4 separate regions of the Homo sapiens genome follow, and all the other regions are linked to region 1. The links are contacts of gene promoters, found by promoter capture Hi-C in blood cells and fetal thymus (Javierre and others, 2016). All regions are on one chromosome and are shown on one strand. The core of a region is centred on a gene start or on the middle of the fragment in contact, and the rest is flanking DNA. Distances in the headings are between cores, read along the strand shown. Region 1 holds the start of ABCA2 (ATP binding cassette subfamily A member 2). Region 2 holds the start of NELFB (negative elongation factor complex member B). Region 3 overlaps TOR4A (torsin family 4 member A). Region 4 holds the start of TRAF2 (TNF receptor associated factor 2).

Region 1 (2,781 bases), core at 113-2,612:
CCCGCAGGCTGGAGGGTGTCTGGGGTGACAGGGTCTGACCTGTGCCTTGTAGCTCCCTCTGGTGGCCAGTGCTGGGGAGGCACTGGGGATGCGGCTGCAGCCAGGGAGCCCCTGTAGTGGACGGTGGAGAGTGGGGCGAGGAGGAGAGAGGCCAACCCACGGGTGGTGCTGACCAGGGCCCCAACAGGCTAAGCCCCCGGGGCTGGGGCACAGGGCTTGTCCCTACCCCAGGTAGGGGTGGGCAGGTTGAGGGCAGGAAGCCCCCCTCACCCATGGCTGTGGCTTGTGGGAAAGACCTGCTGGTAGCTTCCTGCCCTGACCCAGCCCTGTGGACTGAGCAGAGAAAAGCAAGTGCCTTGAGGCTGCGGGCTGGGGTGGGAAGCTGATCCCTCACTCACTAGCCCAGGGTCACCTTCCTGCTGCAAAGGAGCTGGGAGGAGTGGGGAGCTGTGGCCTCGGAGGTCTTCATTCACTTGAGGATGCGCCTTCTATGTGCGCCCTGACACTGGACACCACACAGCGCTACTCCACCCCATTCACAGGGGGGAAACTGAGTCTGGGAAGCGCCGTCAGAGCCACCCATGGGGTCAGCCTGTCCTCTGTCGCTCTCTACAGGCCACGCGGAGGAACTGCCCCACCTCCCGGGGCGCCCCAGCAGGTGCCAAGCCACAGCCGCAGAACCGCCTGATCCCGAACTCCCTGTGCAGAGACCAGACTCGCCCGAATATGGGGAGAAAAACGAGCCGCGTGCAGCAGGGGCCGCCTCGGTCCCCTGCCTGCTCCGCTCACGGCGAGCGTTCCTGGGGCCTCGAGTTTCCCCCCTTCCGCTGGCTGCTCGGAATCGCGGGACGGACCCACCTGGCCGCCCTGCCTCCCTTCCAGGTGGGCACCACCTGGACTCCAAGTGCTGGTTTACAAAGCACACAGGAGACCCTTACGGGGGTGAGCTGGCCCCTCGCCAGCGTCCGCTCGGCGCGCCCCGGGGACAGTGAAGGCTTGGGGCGCCTCTGCAGAGTCGCCAGCGCGGTGGGCGCAGCCGGATGCCTCTGGGAGAAGAGCGCAGCGCCCGAGGGTCCCCCGGCCTACGAAGGCTAAGCCGGGGTCTCGGATTCGATGTGGGCGCGTCGCGTGACGCCCGGCGAGGGGCGGCCCGGAGGCTTCCCGGCGGCGGCGCGCGCAGGGTCTCGGGCCCGGGTCGGTCCCGGGCGCGGCGCGGGCGGCGGGCGCCTCCTGGCGGGCGCGGACGGAGCGCGGCGCCTTTAAGCGGGGGCGGGCGGGGCGCGGGCAGAGTCGCTGTCGCCGCGGCCGCCGGGGCGGAGCCAGCGCGGATCGGGTCCCGGACGCCCGAGCGCCCCGCCCCCGCGCGGGCGATGCCCAGCGGCGCGGCGGGCTGCGGGGCCCGGCGGGGCGCGCAGAGGAGCGGGCCGCGGCGCTGAGGCGGCGGAGCGTGGCCCCGCCATGGGCTTCCTGCACCAGCTGCAGCTGCTGCTCTGGAAGAACGTGACGCTCAAACGCCGGAGCCCGGTGAGCCCACCCCACGCGCCCGCCCTCAGCCCGAGGCCGCGCGCACCGCGGCCAGAGGCGCGCTCCCCGCGCGCACGTGCGGACGGCCGGGCGCGCGCAGACCCCGGCGGGCGCTGGGGGCGGCGCGGGCCCGAGCCCCCTCCCCGCCGGGCCCTGCCCTCGCCTGCCGGCGCTGCGGCCTCCGGGGAGGTGGCTCGGTCGTGTCCAGTCCGGTCCCGCGTCCGCTGACATCGCGGTGCTCGGCTGAGTCACGGCACCCGCGCCCTCTGCAGCGCGCTCGCTGGGGCCGCTGTGGGCGGGGGGCAAGCGGCGCTCAGGACTCTGGCTCGAGGGAGGCCCTGGTTCCCAGGACAGAAGGCAGGCCTGGGGGGCTCCATTCAGCTGCGAGGCTCCATGGTCCTTGGGCCCAGCCTCCCTGGGGTCCCGGAGGAGACCCTGTCCCTTCCCTCCGTCCACCCCTCCCCTGCCCTTGGGCCGCGGCCTGCCATAGAGGTTGGTCCCAGGCATCTCTCCGCCTCCCCTCCTGGCACATCCGTGACCCTTGCTCATGCTCTCGCCACTGGGAATGTCCTTGTGCCAGCCTTGGCCAGCCTGAATCTCTGCACCCATTTGTCCTTTGGGGTCAGTTCTCCCCGAGCCTGATCCACTCTGTTGCCTCCTGGTCCCCCCACCTGCTCTGGGGGCTGGGTCTACTGTTTGGAGCTGTGAACCCCGGCTTTCCCAGCACTGCCTGGGCAGCCAGTGGACCTGAGGGTGCAGGACACATGGCTGTCAGGGACAGAAGTCCTTCGTGGAGCGAGGGGCTTGGGGATATGGGTGTCCTGCCATACCCCCAGCTGGCCAGCTTGGCTCCAGCCTGGGAAGGGAAGGGACACCTCCCAGGCCACAGGCCTGGACCAGCTTAGGTTTCTGAAGGCCCTTGGGATTGTCCAGGCCAGGGCTCAGAGCAGGTGGGGGCCTAAGGCAGACATCCTCTTGCCCAGCCAGGGCCCGGGCGGGACCCCTTGGGCTGCACCAGTCCGTGCCTGTTTATCTTTCAACATGCACTGCAGGAAACCCAGGCTGCAGTCAGCTGGGGTGGCCATCATCACCATGGCTGGCAGAATTCCCCTGGGCACCTGGCCTTGGCGGGGAGCCTGGGTTAGGTACATGCCCTGGCCAGGCACCTGGAGCTGGCTGAGTGGGGTCCCATGGATCAGGCCTGCAGCCCCTGGCATTGAGTCACTGGGGACAGCAGAGCAGGGCCAAGGGAACAGG
Region 2 (2,800 bases), core at 75-2,574, 230 kb before region 1:
CAGCTCTTTCCCAGGAGGGGCCCCACACCCTAACTCCAGTGCTAAGGTTCGGTCTCCACGCGGCTCATGTGGGAGAAGTCAGCACAGAGCTCACCATGGACAGCACTTGGGCAGGCAGCACAGGAAGCTCCCGGAGCTAGGCGGCCACCGGAACTTCCACTAACCAAGGGCATGAGAGTGGGCGGACGGTCCACGCCATCAGGGTTAGGGTTAGGGCCCTACCTTGGGCAGGTGCTTCATGACGCACATCACCACGGGCTGCAGGGACGGCATCTTCACCAGAGAAAAGCTCTTCTCCAGAAGGTCTTCCAGCTTCTTGTACCTGGAACAACTCACAGGATTGATGGTGCAGCGATGCGCCAAATCGCAGCAGCTACCTGCCTGTCCCTACACAGATAACAGCTACCAGGACAAGCCTCCACGCCCAGGACACATGGGTCAAGGGGTCACTCAGACACAGGCCCAGGCCACCTCTGGGAGCAAGGATGTGGAGCCAAAAGGACAATAAATGCCCCTGAGTCGATCCAAGGCTGAGAGGCCGGCTGCACATCTCACCTGCCCACCCCTCCCGCTGACCCACCTTTCCTCAGCCTTCCCCTCCGAAGCGATGGCTGACACTCGCTCCAGCAGCTTGTCCCGCAGCTCATCGAATACCGACTGGTGGAACTCCAGCCGCGGCGTCCCGTGCAGGTCCAAGAAGGGGAGGGCTGACTGAAGAGATGGCAGCAGCACACCATTCTCTGTCTGAGGAAGCCAAGAGAAACCTCAAACGCAGCCCAGTGCGCCCGGGCACCCCGAGGTCCTGAGAGCACAGGGAGGCACGCACCCAGGTGTTCCCAGCCGTGCTGGCGGTAACCGCAGCCACCGAAAGCCACCCAGCCGTCCAGCAAAGGGGTGCTGGCTCCGGACTCCACCCCCAGAACAGGACTCAGCCACCAGCAGAAAGCCGGAAAACTTCCGGCGCCTCCGCCAGGCCCGACTCCCGAGCAGGCGGCCCGGCCCTCCAACTGGGCTCCCCCCGCCCCGGGGGCCGCCCCACCTGGAACTGCTCGATGGCCTTGAGCGGCTCCGTGCAGTTGGTCAGGGTCTCCTTCAGGTCCTCGCCGTTGGCCACGCCCAGGTCCTGCAGCCCCGCGAACATGGCCGAGGCCCCGGCCACCGCCCGGCTAGGCGCCCCATCCCCAGCCCGTTCCCCCGGCGCCGCCGCAGACACCCCAGAAGCCCGCTCCGCCGGGCCTCGGGGACCGCCCGAGCCCCGCTCCCCGGCGCCCTCCAGCTCGGCCAGGTCCCGCCCGCCGCGCGACTCCGCGCGCGTCCCGCAGCCGCCCACTTCCGCCCCGCACCGCCCAGGTCCGCCCGCCAACCGGCCCCCGGGAAACGCCGCCGGGGCCGCGCGCAGGTTCCTGGGAGCAGCGCCCTCACCCGGCGCGAGAGACCCCGCCCAGCCAGCCCAGCGCGCATGCGCCCACCCGGTCCCGCCCGCGCCCGGGCTTTCTGGCAGAAGAGGGCGGGTGAGGGCGTGGGGGGCGGACTCAGGGTCCGTCTGCTCCGGGAACGGACGTCGTCGCAGCCGAGTGAATTTCGTGTACATAAGCGTGGAAAACGCTCTTGCAGATCTCGCGGCAGCCACGCGCAGCGGGGACGTTTTGCCGGGGGTTGAGCTCCCCGCCCCTCTGCCCCGCAGGGGCCGGACACAGGCGCAGACTCCCTCCTGAGCGTGGGTTCCTCCGCGTGAAACGGGCACGAAGCCCACCCCGGCGCTGTCGCCAAAACTGAGATCTGAGCGCCTTCAGGGGGCCGGGGCCTGGCGGAGACCGGGCCCGCAGCGGGAGCGCGAGCGACGGCCGCCCTCCCAGGCACCGGGAGGCTGTGGCGCCCACCGAGCTCCGCGGAGCCGTGAAGGAGAGTCCAGGTTCCACAGTGTCCCTTCTTATCCCAGGCGGGTGGGCTCCCCGGGCCTCCCCGCCTCTCCAGCCCGCCGCCCTCCCGCAGGCTGTGCCGCGCCAAGCCCCCTACACACACCCTCTCTCTTTTCGGTCTCCGCTGCTGAAATTTTCTCTAGAAATTTCTTTCCCGCTGCCCAGCAAACTCTTGCTCTTCCTTGAAGGCTTCTTCCTCCACCACCTCCTCCAGGAAGCCCTCCCTCCTCAGCCCAGCTGGAGGAGATCGCTCCATCTTTCCTGCCGCTCCCACTCCTAGCTTTGGGTCTCACCAGGGGTGCCTGGTGGTGCAGCCGTGAGCAGAGCTCCTGTTCCCACAAGCCGGGCCGAGCTCCCAAGGCCATGGCTACCACAGCTCTCTTGCCGCTGGCCAAGTTGGTCAGCCCTAGGGCGAGGGTTCCAGTGCCTTGATCCAACCCCCAGCTGGTTCGGTGGCAGAGGAGGACAAGGGTCACAGCACACACACAATCCTGAGCCTGGGATTCCTCTCTGAGAAAGGGGGTGGTGCTGAGGCCACAGAAGCAGCTGCCCAGAGCCTTTTTGAAGGGGTTGAGCTCTGGGCCTGGTCTGGGTCCTGGGTCTGGGGAGGACCTGGGGAGGTGCGGGTGACGGCACCGCAGGTAAGGCTCCTGCAAGGTGGCAGCCTTGGGGCCCGACCCTGGGTAGGAGGGCAGGCCAGTGATGACAAGGGAGGCCCCAGCCAGGCGAAGTTGCAGGCAGGGGCAGTGCAGGGTCCCAGCAGGTGAAGGCCCCGGGAGTGGAGTCTGCAGGGCCCTGGGCCAGAGTGTTCAGGGCACAGGTGACTAAGCCCAGCCAGGTCTTCAGCTCAAGGCCTAGGGGAAGTGGGGCTGGGCCCTGGT
Region 3 (2,929 bases), core at 198-2,697, 260 kb before region 1:
AGGAGGCTGAGGCAGAATGGCGAGAACCCGGGAGGCGGAGCTTGCAGTGAGCCAAGATTGCGCCACTGCACTTCCAGCCTGGATGACAGAGCAAGACTCCATCTCAAAAAAAAAAAATGCAAAAAACTAGCCAGGCGTGGTGATGGGCGCCTGTAGTCCCAGCTACTTGGGAGGCTGAGGCAGGAGAATGGCATGAACCCAGGAGGCGGAGCTTGCAGTGAGCAGAGATCGCGCCACTGCACTCCAGCCTGGGCAACAGAGCGAGACTCTGTCTCAAAAAAAAAAAAAAAAACAAAAATTACCAGGACATGGTGGCACACGCCTCTGGTCCCAGCTACTCAGGAGGCCAAGGCAGGAGAATCGCTTGAACCTGGGAGTTTAAGGCTGCAGTGAGCCAAGATTGCACCACTAGCTGAGATTGCACCACTGCCCTCCAGCCTAGGTGACAGAGTGAGACCCTGTCTCAAACAAACAAACCAAAAAAAAAAAAAAAAGCTTTATTTCAAAAAGTTTGCCTAGGGCCAGGCATGGTGGCTCACGCCTGTAATCCCAGCACTTTGGGAGGTCTAGGCTGGAGGATCACTGTAAGTGGGGAGTTTGAGACCAGCCTGTCCAATATGGTATAACCCTGTCTCTACTAAAAATACAAAAATTAGCTGAGCATGTTGGTGCGTGCCTGCAATCCCAGCTACTCGGGAGACTGAGGCAGGAGAATTGCTTGAACCCAGGAGGTGGAAGTTGCAATGAGCCGAGATCATCGCACCATTGCACTCCAGCCTAGACAACAAGAGTGAAACTCCGTCTCAAAACAAAACAAAACAAAAAATTAGCTGGGCATGGTGGCACACACCTGTAGTCCCAGGTACTAGGGAGGCTACAGCAGGAGAATCCCTTGAACCCAGGAGGCAGAGGTTGCAGTGAGCCAAGATCGAGCCACTGCACTCCAGCCTGGGCGATAGAGCAAGACTGTCTCAAAAAAAAAAAATCAATAAAATTAGACAATTTAGATGAAATGGACAAATTCCTAGAAGTTCCAAGAAAGACACAAATTACCAAAACTGACTCAGGGACTTTGCAGATGTAGGTAAGTGTGGACCTTGGATGGGAAGATAATCCGTTATTACCCAGGTGGACACATTTACTTATTTATTTTATCTTTTTTGAGACATAGTCTCACTCTGTCGTCCAGGCTGGAGTGCAGTCGCAGGGTCTTGGCTCACTGCAAGCTCCACCTCCTGGATTCAAGCGATTCTCCTACCTCAGCCCCCCAAGTAGCTGGGATGACAGGAACTCGACACCACATCCGACTGATTTTTGTATTTTTAGTAGAGACAGGGTTCCACCATGTTGGCCAGGCTGGTCTTGAACTCCTGACCTCAGGTGATCTGCCCGCCTTGGCCTCCCAAAGTGCTGGGATTATAGGCGTGAGCCACTGCGCCTGGCCCAGGTGGACACATCTAGTCACATGGGTCTTTAAAAGCAGAAAACTCTTCCTGGCTGTGGTCGGAAGGATGCAGTGTTGCTGACCTTGAAAAATGCAGAGAATGGCCAGGCGCGGCGGCTCACGCCTGGAATCCCAGCACTTTGGAAGGCCGAGGTGGGAGAATCGCTTGAGCCCAGGAGGTCGAGGCTGTAGTGAGCCACAATCACGCCATTGCATTCCAGCCTGAATGACAGAGAGAACCTGTCTCTATTAAAAGAAAAGAGAAGCCAGGCACGTTGGCTCACAACTGTAATGCCAGCATTTTGGGAGGCTGAGATGGGTAGATCACCTGAGGTCAGGAGTTCGAGACCAGCCTGGCCAACATAGTGAAACTGAGTCCCTACTAAAAATACAAAAATTAGCTGGGTGTGGTGGTGGGCGTCTGTAATTCCAGCTACTCAGGAGGCTGAGGCAGGAGAATTACTTGAACCCAGGAGGTGGAGGCTGCAGTGAGTGGAGATCACACCACTGCACTCCAGCCTGGGTGACAGAGCGAGACCTTGTCTCAAAAAAAAAAAAAAAAGTCATTATGATGTGCACACACAGATCACGAGGGTTACTACGTAATGACACATGGCAGATGTCAAAGAATAACTCAGAGACAACTGCACAGAAACAGTTTCTGCACATATGAGGGAGAGCAGCTATGACATTTGGGATCATCTGGTTAGCTGGCAACTTCCCGCATGTCCAGCCTGGGTCATCTGCCCTCAGCACCTGTCCAGGGCAATTAAAGAAAATACTTTAGTTATTTATGGATTTCCTGGAAAGCCCGGATGTTTGAGCTGCAGACTGCATGTGAGCCCCAATCCTTCCATCAGCCTCCAGGTCCACACCACTTCCCCATTCAGAAGTTTCTCAAAACAAAACAAAAAACAAAACTCTCGATCAGCATGTCCTATTAAATAGAAGCTTAGAGAGAAATGGATAAATCTACCATAAATCTACAATTAGGGAAAGATTTCAGCATCCTCCTCAATTATTAACAGACCAGACAGACAAGAAACAAACCAAACAGTAGGTCGTCAGATTTGAACCACACAATTTATTAACAAGCATGATTTGTGGCCTCGTTTATTACCAGCCCCCACCCCAGCACTTGGTGCACATTCTCCTTAAGCGCAGAATTTGGCCTCAAGGTAATATTTTAGGAATAAATAAAAAGAGGCCGGGCACGGTGGCTCACACCTGTAATCCCAGCACTTTGGGAGGCCGAGGTGGGCGGATCACGAGGTCAGGAGTTCGTGACTAGCCTGGCCAACATAGTGAATCACCGTCTCTACCAACAATACAAAAAAATTACCCGGGCGTGATGGCGGGCGCCTGTAATCCCAGCTACTCGGGAGGCTGAGGCAGGAGAATCGCTTGAACCCAGGAGGCAGAGGTTGCAGTGAACCGAGATCGTGTCATTGCACTCCAGCCTGGGCAACAAGAGCAAAACTCTGT
Region 4 (3,252 bases), core at 1-2,500, 140 kb after region 1:
AAAACCCCGGACCGTGCCCTGGCGCTGCTCCGAGCACGGCCGCGCGCGTTCCCGAACTTTCCCGCGCCAGCCACGCTCGGACTTGGTTTCCGGCCCAGCGGCTCAGAGAAATCCCCTCGGGCTGGCCCCGCCCCCGCCCCGCGGCCTCTCCCGCCCCCGCTCCCGCTCCGGCCCGGAGTCTCCCTGAGAGGTGCCCGCGCCTGCGCCCGACCCCGCGCCCGACCCCGCACCCGACCCCGCGCCCGCGCCCGACCCCGCACCCGACCCCGCGCTCGCCTCACCCAACGGTCGCAGCGCGCCCGGAACTAAGGGCCCGCCCAGCTACCGCCCCCAACGCCGCCGCCGCCGCCGCCGCTCCGCCGCGTGCGCCTGACGGACGGACATGGGAGCCAACCAGCCAGCCCTCAGGAAGCTGTAGCGAGAGCCATTGGCCAGATACGCCCCGCTCCGAGCGCGCCTGACGGACTGACGCCGGAGCCAACCAGCGAGCCCGCAGGAGCCGCAGCGTGCGCCGATTGGTCGGCGCTGAGACGGCGTGGGTACCTAAGTCGCCCTCTGCTTTTTCCTCAAAGAGCGCGCCGGGGCGTTGGTGCGGGGAGCTGGTGAGGTGCTGCGCTGTGGGGTCCGCGCTAATTGGGTCCCTTCCCCAGGTGCGGCGAGACAGCGAGGCCCTTGCTTCCCCTCCCGTGGCCCCGGGGCGGAGACCCCTGCCGCACACCCGAGAGGTGAGCCGGGAGCCCAAGCCGGGCGACACCGGTTCCCACGAGGCGCGCGTCGCGCGCGGGACGCGGGGCCCTGGCGGGGCGGCCGCACCTACCCGACACCTGCGGGTCCCTCCGCCTCCCCCGGTGCCGGGCGCAGAGCGGCGCCTCAATTTGGGTAACATTTATGAGAAACAGGACTAAAAGAATACTGCACACTTAAGTAAGGTATTAAGGCTATGGGGTCTCCTTTTGGGGTGAGGTAATGCTCTGCAACCGGACAGTGGTGACGGCCGCCCGACATGGCCGGTGTGCTAATCTACTGGGTTGTGCACTTTATTTATTTTTTTTTTTGAGACGGAGGCTCACTCTGTCGCCCAGGCTGGAGTTCAGTGGCGCGATCTCGACTCACTGCAACCTCCGCCTCCCGGGTTCAAGCGATTCTCCTGCCTCAGCCTCCCGAGTAGCTGGGACTACAGGCGCCCGCCATCACGCCCGGCTAATGTTTGTATTTTTGATAGAGACGAGGTTTCACCATGTTGGCCAGGCTGGTCTTGAACTCCCGACCTCAAGTGAAAACACAACCTATGGCCTCCAGACACTCAAATGAAAACAGTGGCCTTGGCGGCCAAAACAGGGGCTGCCCTAGGAGTCCTGTGGGCTGCATGGGGGAGGCGGCACTGTCATCTGCCCAGGAGAACGGGAGCTGCAGCAGGTTCTCTCTGGCGGTGCACGGGCTAGCACTGGACACACCACCCCCTCTCCATCCAGCCTTTGGTGAAATGGAGACCTTTCACCCCGCTTTGCAGAGAAGGAAACGTTCACGGAGGTAAGTCTCCTCCAAGCATTCAGACCCTGAGACCACGGGACTCCTCAAGGATGGAATACACTGCAAAACAGGGCAGGCTTTGAAGTTGCATAATTTACACAGGCCACGCTGTCCCCAGGCGCCAATGCCACATTTCATATATGTTACTTGGTTTGCAGTTGGAATTCCCCTCCGCCCCAAACCCACATTCCTGGGACAGCAAGGCCTTGAGATGGAACTCAGGAAGCCATCGGATTCCATCAACGTCATCACCCCTGAGTTTGCTGCAAGCAGCCATGGAAACGTCCCAAGTCCGCACCTGCAGGCTCAGTGAGGTTGCTCAAGCCCAGGAACTAACTGAGCTCTCAAACGTAAGAAGGCGTCTCCTCCTGGCTGCACCTGGGAGGCTCAAAGCTGTCCTGAGTCTGCAGCAGCCAGCTCGGGATGAGAAAGGGTTCACGTGGCAGTTCATGCCTATAATCCCAGCACTTTGGGAGGCTGAGGCAGGAGGACCGCTTGAGCCCATGAGTTCGAAACCAGCATGGGCAGCATGGGGGAACCCCATCTCTACCAAAAAAAGGAAAAAAAATTTAGCTGGGTGTGGTGCTGCACACCTGTAGTCCCAACTGCTTGGAAGGCTGAGGCAGGAAGATGACTGAAGCTCAGGAGGTGGAGGTTGCAGTGAGCTGTGGTTGCACCACTGCACTCCAGGCTGCGCTATAGAGTGAGACCCTGTCTCTTTTTTTTCTTTTTTGAGACGGTGTCTTGCTCTGTCACCCAGGCTGGAGTGCAGTGGTGCGATCTCGGCTCACTGCAACCTCTGCCTCCCGGGTTCAAGAAATTCTCCTGCCTAAGCCTCCGGAGTAGCTGGGACTACCGGCGCACACCGCTACGCCCGGCTAATTTTTTTTGTATTTTAGTAGAGACGGGGTTTCACCGTGTTGCTCAGGCTGGTCTCGAACTCCTGAGCTCAGGCAATTGCCTGCCTCGGCCTCCCAAAGTGCTAGGATTACAGGCATGAGCCACTGCGCCTGGCTGACCCTGTCTCTTTTAAAAAAGAAAAAACAGCCAGGCACGGCGGCTCATGCCTGTAATCCCAGCACTTTGGGAGGCCTAGGCGAGCAGATCACCTGAGGTCAGGAGTTTGAGACCAGACTGGCCAACATGGTGAAACCTCGTCTCTACTAAAAAAATACAAAAGGCCGGGCGCGGTGGCTCACCCCAGCACTTTGGGAGGCCGAGGTGGGCAGATCATGAGGTCAAGAGATCGAGACCATTCTGGCCAACATGTTGAAACCCTGTCTCTACTAAAAGTACAAAAATTAGCTGGGCATGGTGGTACGCGCCTGTACTCACAGCTACTCAGGAGACTGAGTAGGCAGGAGATTCACTTGAACCCGGGAGGCGTAGGTTGCAGTGAGCCGAGATTGCGCCACTACACTCCAGCCTGGCGACAGAGCAAGAATCCATCTCAAAAAAAAAAAAAAATACACAAAAGGCCCGGCACAGTGGCTCATGTTTGTAATCCCAGCACTTTGGGAGGCTGAGGTGGGTGGATCACCTGAGGTCAGGGGTTCAAGACCAGCCTGGCCAACGTGGTGAAACCCTGTCTCTACTAAAAATACAAAAATCAGCTGGGCATGGTGGCAGATGCCTGTAATCCCAATTACTCAGGAGGCTGAGGCAGGAAAATCACTTGAACCTGGGAGGCAGAGGTTGCAGTGAGCCGAGATTACGCCACTG

What was found. The method cuts DNA at HindIII sites, captures the fragments that hold promoters and counts their contacts. A CHiCAGO score of 5 or more calls a contact.
Region 2: the fragment with the promoter of NELFB here is called in contact with the fragment with the promoter of ABCA2 in region 1 in 15 of 17 cell types (erythroblasts, endothelial precursors, activated CD4 T cells and 12 more); the score reaches 17.3 in erythroblasts.
Region 3: a fragment that was not itself captured here is called in contact with the fragment with the promoter of ABCA2 in region 1 in 1 of 17 cell types (erythroblasts); the score reaches 5.6 in erythroblasts.
Region 4: a fragment that was not itself captured here is called in contact with the fragment with the promoter of ABCA2 in region 1 in 10 of 17 cell types (total CD8 T cells, naive CD8 T cells, total B cells and 7 more); the score reaches 11.7 in total CD8 T cells.

The regions. Positions count from the first base shown.
Region 1 is chr9:137,026,818-137,029,598 of GRCh38, reverse strand. ABCA2 (ATP binding cassette subfamily A member 2) reads left to right here and starts at 1,362. Exons shown (of 49, transcript NM_001606.5): 1 at 1,362-1,524. The coding sequence starts at 1,459. LINC02908 (long intergenic non-protein coding RNA 2908) reads right to left here and starts at 2,135. Exons shown (of 3, transcript NR_171031.1): 1 at 1,688-2,135. RefSeq lists an enhancer at 477-1,221 and a silencer at 1,105-1,284. The HindIII fragment of the contact is 3,387 bases long and covers 1-2,781 here.
Region 2 is chr9:137,253,851-137,256,650 of GRCh38, reverse strand. NELFB (negative elongation factor complex member B) reads right to left here and starts at 1,324. Exons shown (of 13, transcript NM_015456.5): 1 at 1,040-1,324; 2 at 581-744; 3 at 223-322. The coding sequence starts at 1,285. It also overlaps a transcript of CIMIP2A not described here. RefSeq lists enhancers at 21-968, 969-1,916 and silencers at 927-986, 1,027-1,206, 1,217-1,586, 1,777-1,956. The HindIII fragment of the contact is 15,726 bases long and covers 1-2,800 here.
Region 3 is chr9:137,282,221-137,285,149 of GRCh38, reverse strand. It overlaps TOR4A (torsin family 4 member A), which reads right to left. Exons shown (of 2, transcript NM_017723.3): 2 at 2,509-2,929. Among named protein-coding and RNA genes, the nearest start is that of TOR4A, 6.0 kb to the right of the region's middle. The HindIII fragment of the contact is 1,900 bases long and covers 498-2,397 here.
Region 4 is chr9:136,883,571-136,886,822 of GRCh38, reverse strand. It overlaps TRAF2 (TNF receptor associated factor 2), which reads right to left and starts at 307. Exons shown (of 11, transcript NM_021138.4): 1 at 282-307. It overlaps MIR4479 (microRNA 4479), which reads right to left and starts at 90; the gene lies at 20-90. It overlaps LOC105376326 (a long non-coding RNA gene), which reads left to right and starts at 569. Exons shown (of 3, transcript XR_930448.2): 1 at 569-725; 2 at 1,473-1,530; 3 at 1,689-2,043. RefSeq lists an enhancer at 1-346 and silencers at 1-532, 753-882. The HindIII fragment of the contact is 4,476 bases long and covers 1-3,252 here.